2 separate regions of the Homo sapiens genome follow, and region 2 is linked to region 1. Evidence: promoter capture Hi-C in human tissues and cell types (Jung and others, 2019). All regions are on one chromosome and are shown on one strand. Each heading gives the region's core, a stretch centred on a gene start or on the middle of the fragment in contact. The rest is flanking DNA. Distances are from core to core; before and after follow the strand shown.

Evidence for each region. The method cuts DNA at HindIII sites, captures the fragments that hold promoters and counts their contacts. A contact is called where the count stands out against the background at its distance.
Region 2: a contact is called between a fragment that was not itself captured here and the fragment with the promoter of SEZ6L2 in region 1, in 1 of the 25 tissues and cell types used here (spleen).

What each region holds. Positions count from the first base shown.
Region 1 is chr16:29,898,237-29,901,216 of GRCh38, reverse strand. SEZ6L2 (seizure related 6 homolog like 2) reads left to right here and starts at 1,667. Exons shown (of 18, transcript NM_001243332.2): 1 at 1,667-2,276. The coding sequence starts at 2,198. ASPHD1 (aspartate beta-hydroxylase domain containing 1) reads right to left here and starts at 729. Exons shown (of 3, transcript NM_181718.4): 1 at 1-729. The coding sequence starts at 245. RefSeq lists a silencer at 682-1,111 and an enhancer at 1,475-1,769. The HindIII fragment of the contact is 10,220 bases long and covers 1-2,980 here.
Region 2 is chr16:29,711,388-29,714,624 of GRCh38, reverse strand. No RefSeq gene overlaps it. Among named protein-coding and RNA genes, the nearest start is that of C16orf54, 33 kb to the left of the region's middle. RefSeq lists an enhancer at 1,986-2,567. The HindIII fragment of the contact is 8,263 bases long and covers 1-3,237 here.

The DNA.
Region 1 (2,980 bases), core at 418-2,917:
AAGGTGAGGGCCGAGGAGGCCAGGGGTAGTGGCCACGGGAGCATGATCAGGGAGGCCCTGGCCAAGAGGCCTGGGGCGTCCTCCGGACCCCAGTTCCCCTGTCCCCCCAGCTCCCCACCTGTCCCTTCCATGGCTGCCCCCTGGCTCCCCGCTGGACTGTTTCCCTTCCACATTCCACTCTGGGCTGTCTCTCTCTCCTTCCGCGGTCCTCTCTCCACGCTGAAGCTCCCTCTCCCCTCCTTCATGCACCTCCAACCCTCCTCTCTCCTTTCTCTCCCCTTTCTCTCTCCTTCTACCTCTTCTTCCTCCTCTCCCTCTGTCGCCTCCTCACCCTCTTCTTTCTCCTTCCAGCAGCCTCCTCTCTCTCGCTCTGCTTCTCTCTCCCACCTCAATCTCCCCCTTTCCTCCCCACCCCCGCTTTTCGCTCGCTCTCTCTCCCCGCTTCCTCCTAGCTCCCCTGGGCAGCGGTTCCTACCCTGCCTGGACCTGCAGTCCCGGGAACCCGCAGCCTGTCTTCCTCCGCGGCAGCTTCTTTCTCTCCGGCCTCACTGCTCTCTCCTTGCCCTCGCTCCTCACTAGCCCCGACCCTGCGGTCCTGCCTGGCTCTCGCTCCCTCTCTCCTACTCGCTCCTTCCTGGGCTCCCACTCACCCTGACGTCACTCCTTCCCGGAGCCCTCTCAGCTCAGCCACCCCCGAACCCTCCCAGTGGCACAGCAAATCAGCCGGGTGCCGGGGGAGGGGGGAGAGTTGTCGCTGGAGGTGCCTCCCCACCCCCCCCGCCCGGAAAGGGCGCCACGTGGGGCGCAGGGGCCACGGTGCCAGCCTCCAGCCGTCCCGCAATGCGAAAGAAGGGGCGGGTCGTATCGGGCGGGGCCTGAGGGGCGGGGCCTGAGGGGCGGGGCGAGCGCGGACTGACGGCTGGGCAGGCGCCCGGGACTGCGGGCAAGGATGCTGAGGCCAGTCCGTCGGGCGGCTGGTCCGTCGGTCGGTCGGCCTGTGACTCCCGCTGGCCCTAGGCAGCCCGGGAGCCCGCGAGCCTGGCAAACACCGAAAGCGGCCTCAGCCAATCGCGGGCGGCGTCGGGCCGGGCCCGCCCCGGCGGGGCGAGGGGAGCTGTCCGCGCGCCGCTGGTGCTGAAAAGGGCGCTCCGGAGGGAAAATCAGAGCCGAGGCCGCCTGTTAGCTGGCCGGGGTCAGGGTTTATGGAAGAGGAGGGGTCTGTCTCTCCTCCCCAAACCCCGGCCCGTCACCCACGAGACTTGTCACAATCGTGGAAGCTCTCTATTCCCCTGGAGGAGGGAGAGCCCATTCCACCCGAGCTACTGTAAAAGGGGAAGGGAAGCCCCTTGGGAGGTCTGAATGTGAACAGGGGGCATAATTGGGGGCCTAGCAGGCGCGAACCAAGCTATGCAGCCCCTCGGCACCCTGGGAAGAGGAGATTCAGATTCCAGATGTGCTGGAATGGCAGGCGGAGGGGGCTAATTACTGCTGGGACCAGAGAGTTTCCTTTGCCTCCCCTAGGGGCCGCGGGAGTGAGGATTACGGCCCTGGCTCGTATGATCCCTCCCTCCTCCATCTGCACTTCCTCCTCCTCCCTCCCCGTCAAATAAATCCCAGGCCCCTCCCTCCGCCCGTCCCCAGGATCTGACGTGGGCTCGATACCTTTCTCAGCTTCTCCCTCCCGCAGCTCCAGTGCCCGAGCTTCGGCTCTCCCAGTTCCCCAACCCACCCCTTCCCCTCCCCGACAAGCCCCGCTAGAGCCCAGTGGAGACCCCCTCGATCCTCGACCCCACCCTAAACCCCCAGAAGCTGTCTTTCTCCTCCCCAGTCCCCTAGCTTGGGGTCCAGACAGCCCAGTGGACCCAGGCGCCTGAGCAGGAGGGTAACCCAGGCCACCCGGCCCCTTCGGCCCTCTCGGCCCCACCCCCTGCAGCCGGAGCCGCGCCCCCTCCACCACAGAGCCGCGAGAAGAGGACAGAGGAGACTGAGCAAAGGGGGGTGGGCTCCAGGCGACCCCTAGCCCAATTCTGCCCCTCCATCCCAAGGGGCAGAGAAATTGTCTTTCTTTGCTGACTCCTACGAGGAAAAAAAAAAAAAAAAAAAAAACAATTAAAGGGAAAGATAAACGGAGACGGAGGAAAGGTGGCAGCCAGATTACTTAGAGAGGCACAGAGGAGAGAGATCGGGGTGAGTCGCCATGGGGACTCCCAGGGCCCAGCACCCGCCGCCTCCCCAGCTGCTGTTCCTAATTCTGCTGAGCTGTCCCTGGATCCAGGGTAAGGACATGAGACTGTGGGGGTGGGCCCCAGGAAGGCGTCCAGCGGGGTCCTCCACCCTCCTTTCTCTTAATATCCTGGGTCTTCCGAGCACATGGGGGAGGGGAGAGGCACAGCTGATGGGGAAGGGGCAAGCCAGAGCTTTCAGGCTTGAACCCGAAGCCCCTTAACCCTCAATATTGAGAAGGCAGAGAAATGAATGAGAGAAGCTTTTAGCAGTGTCTCAGGGGCTAGATCCAAGAAGGAGGGCTGGGAAAGTTGGGGGGATGTCTGCGGAGGCGGCAGAAGCATGGAGGGACCTGGGTGGGAGATGGAGGTGCTGAGAGAGATGCCAGGCGCTGTACACACAACTGTTCTTGGATGAATGGACAAAGACAGATGAGCAGAGGCAGGGCTCAAAGACCAGATTTTCAGTCCCCCACTCTGACCCCCAGCCAGACTCCAGGGAAGGAGGCAGAGACTGCAGAGGACCAGAGAGAGAGAGGGTGGGGGGGAGAGAGAGAGAGAGAGAGAGAGAAAAGACAGCCACACTGCAGAGACAGAAACCCAGAGAGAAAGCCAGGCACTGCGGAAGCAAGGGCTGGGAGGTGCGGCCAGATCCTCTGCAGAGCCCCAGGGTTGGGGGGAGATCACCACTGAGGTGAAAGGGAAGGCAGCACCGGCGACCCCTCTGCCTTGCTGGCGCTGTCCAGGGTCCATAAGAG
Region 2 (3,237 bases), core at 172-2,671, 190 kb after region 1:
AATAGGCAGCTTTTGAAACTGTCATTGCAAAACTGAGACTGAGACAGTGAAAGAGAAGAGATCCGACCCAAACAACTCCATTTTGTTTCCAGCCCCCAAGCTGTCCTTGCCCATCCCTGGGTGTAGGCTGGACCAACTTTGGGAGGGGCGAGTTTACAGTTATTAAACTATAGACAGTTTATAGTTATTAAACTATAGATAGTTTAAAACTACAGTTATTAAACTATAGTTTATAGTTATTAAACTATAGATAGTTTATAGTTATTAAACTATAGATAGTTTATAGTTATTAAACTATAGATAGTTTATAGTTATTAAACTATAGTTTATAGTTATTAAACTAGTTTATAGTTATTAAACTATAGTTTATAGTTATTAAACTATAGTTTATAGTTATTAAGCTATAGTTTATAGTTATTAAACTATAGATAGTTTATAGTTATTAAACTATAGATAGTTTAAAACAAAGATGATATCAGCCCCTTCTTAAGATATACTTCCCTCTTGTCTGGGGACCAGACCAAGAAACTAGCCATAAGATTAAAAACCAGGCTGGGCGTGGTGGCTCACGCCTGTAATCCCAGCACTTTGGGAGGCCAAGGTGGGCGAATCACGAGGTCAGGAGTTCGAAACCAGCCTGGTCAACATAGTGAAACCCTGTCTTTACTGAAAATACAAAAGTTAGCCAGGTGTAGTGGTACACGCCTGTAATCCCAGCTACTTGTGAGGCTGAGGCAAAGAGAATCACTTGAACCTGGGAGGTGGAGGTTGCAGCAAGCTGAGATTGCGCCACTGCACTCCACCCTGGGCAACAGTGCAAGACTCCATCTCAAAAAAAAAATATATATATATATATATTTATATATTTTATATAATTATATATATTTATATATTTTATATAATTATATATAATTATATATATTTATATATTTTATATAATTATATATTTATATATTTTATATAATTATATATTTATATATTTTATATAATTATATATTTATATATTTTATATAATTATATATTTATATATTTTATATAATTATATATATTTATATATTTTATATAATTATATATAATTATATATTTTATATAATTATATATAATTATATATTTTATATAATTATATATAATTATATATTTTATATAATTATATATATTTATATATTTTATATAATTATATATAATTATATATTTTATATAATTATATATTAAATATATTAACTATATAATTATATATATTAATATATTTTATATAATTATATATTAAATATATTAACATATATAATTATATATTATATATTTTATATAATTATATATTAAATATATTAACATATATAATTATATATATTATATATTAATATATATAATATAAAATTATGTATATATATAATATAAAATTATATATATATATTGGAAACTATGGCTTAGGAGCTATGCATCTGGAGGCTACAAGATTTTGACACTCCCTAAACTACTCTTAAAATGAGTGTTTAAGATATTTTGTAAACCCTGCCCTTGATGGATCAGCTGGCACCACCCAGATTGACAAACCGACTTAATCTGATTTTGTGGCCCTCACCCAGAAACTGACTTAGCACCAGAAGACAGCCACCATTATGAAATGGTGGAGACTCAAACAAAGTATTGCCACGTGGTTACAGGTCATGTTTCCAAGGACATGAAACAAGATGAAGGCTTATAGCCAATTTTGTTAGTGACGATTTTGTTGGGCTCGCTCAAACACCAGGCTTATGGGGTCCTAGGCCTGCATCCTAACCTAAGATACCCTTTCTTAGGGAAAGACATGCAAAGCACACCAGATTGTTTACAGCTTAAGACCAACCTCACAAATCCTTTTTTATGAATTAGAAATTTACAGAGAATATAAACAATGATCCTTATTATCCCTTTTACCGGTTTGCACAGGGAGAAGCCAAAAGCCCATCTGGTAAGAAATGTTTACCCTTTTGCCAGCATACCAGGCTTCTGTGTTCCCTTCCCCCTAGCTCAACTCTAAGCCAAGCATTTTAACGTTTGGAAAAATAACTTTTCCCAGGTTGGAAGAACATTATAAAAGAGATAGAAGCCATTTTAAACCGTGAAAGAAGGAAAAACACCATAGAAAGGAGTGACAAATAGGGTTGCCAAGAGGTATTGCCTCTTTTCCTATTGGAAATATTGTTTCCCCTATTTCTTTGCCTTCCCTATTTTTTCTTTTCCCTTTTGGCCTACTATAGGAGACCTATTGCTTATCTCCAAAATTTTCTTCTGCTTGCAGAGCTGCCTGTTTTAACTGCAGTTAGGGTTTGGCTTAAGAGCAGCATAACATTCCTCCATGAGAGGTTAAATACCTGAGTTAAATTGTGGAAAACTTCTGTATACCTATCAGGGTCATTAGAAGATTGGACAGGCGCAGTGGCTCACGCCTGTAATCCCAGCACTTTGGGAGGCTGAGGCGGGTGGATCATCTGAGGTCAGGAGTTCAAGACCAGCCAAACCAACATGGTGAAACTGTCTCTACTAAAAAAACAAACAAACATAAAATTAGCTGGGCATGGTGATGCACGCCTGTGAATCCTAGCTACTTGGGAGACTGAGGCAGGAGAATTGCTTGAACCCGGGAGGTGGAGGTTGCAGTGAGTCAAGATCACGCCATTGCACTCTAGCCTGGGCAACAAGAGCAAAACTATGTTTCAAAAAAAAATAAAGAAAGAAAGAAAATTGGCCTAAGTCTCCCTTTACTTGCCTAAGGTCCTAAATAATGAGAAAGGAACTTGAAGGGGCCCCAAATAAAGGAATCCTCAGGTGGTTCCCCTAGAACTGGCTTCTCTAATTTTGGGTAATCATTCTCTTTGGGCCTGCCTGATGTGATTGCTAAAAGAGCTAGGTTGATTTTGCAACGCTTGCAGAAGTTTAGTAAAAAGGCCACGCCCAGCCGGGGGCAGTGGCTCAGGCCTGTAATCCCAGCACTTTGGGAGGCCTAGATGGGTGGATCACGAGGTCAGGAGATTGAGACCATCCCGGCTAACACAGTGAAACCCCGTCTCTATTAAATATACAAAAAAAGTTAGCCGGGCGTGGTGGCGGGCGCCTGTAGTCCCAGCTACTCGGGAGGCTGAGGCATGAGAATGGTGTGAACCCGGGAGGTGGAGCTTGCAGTGAGCCGAAATCGAGCCACTGCACTCCAGCCTGAGTGACGGAGCAGGACTCCGTCTCAAAAAAAAAAAAACAAAAAAA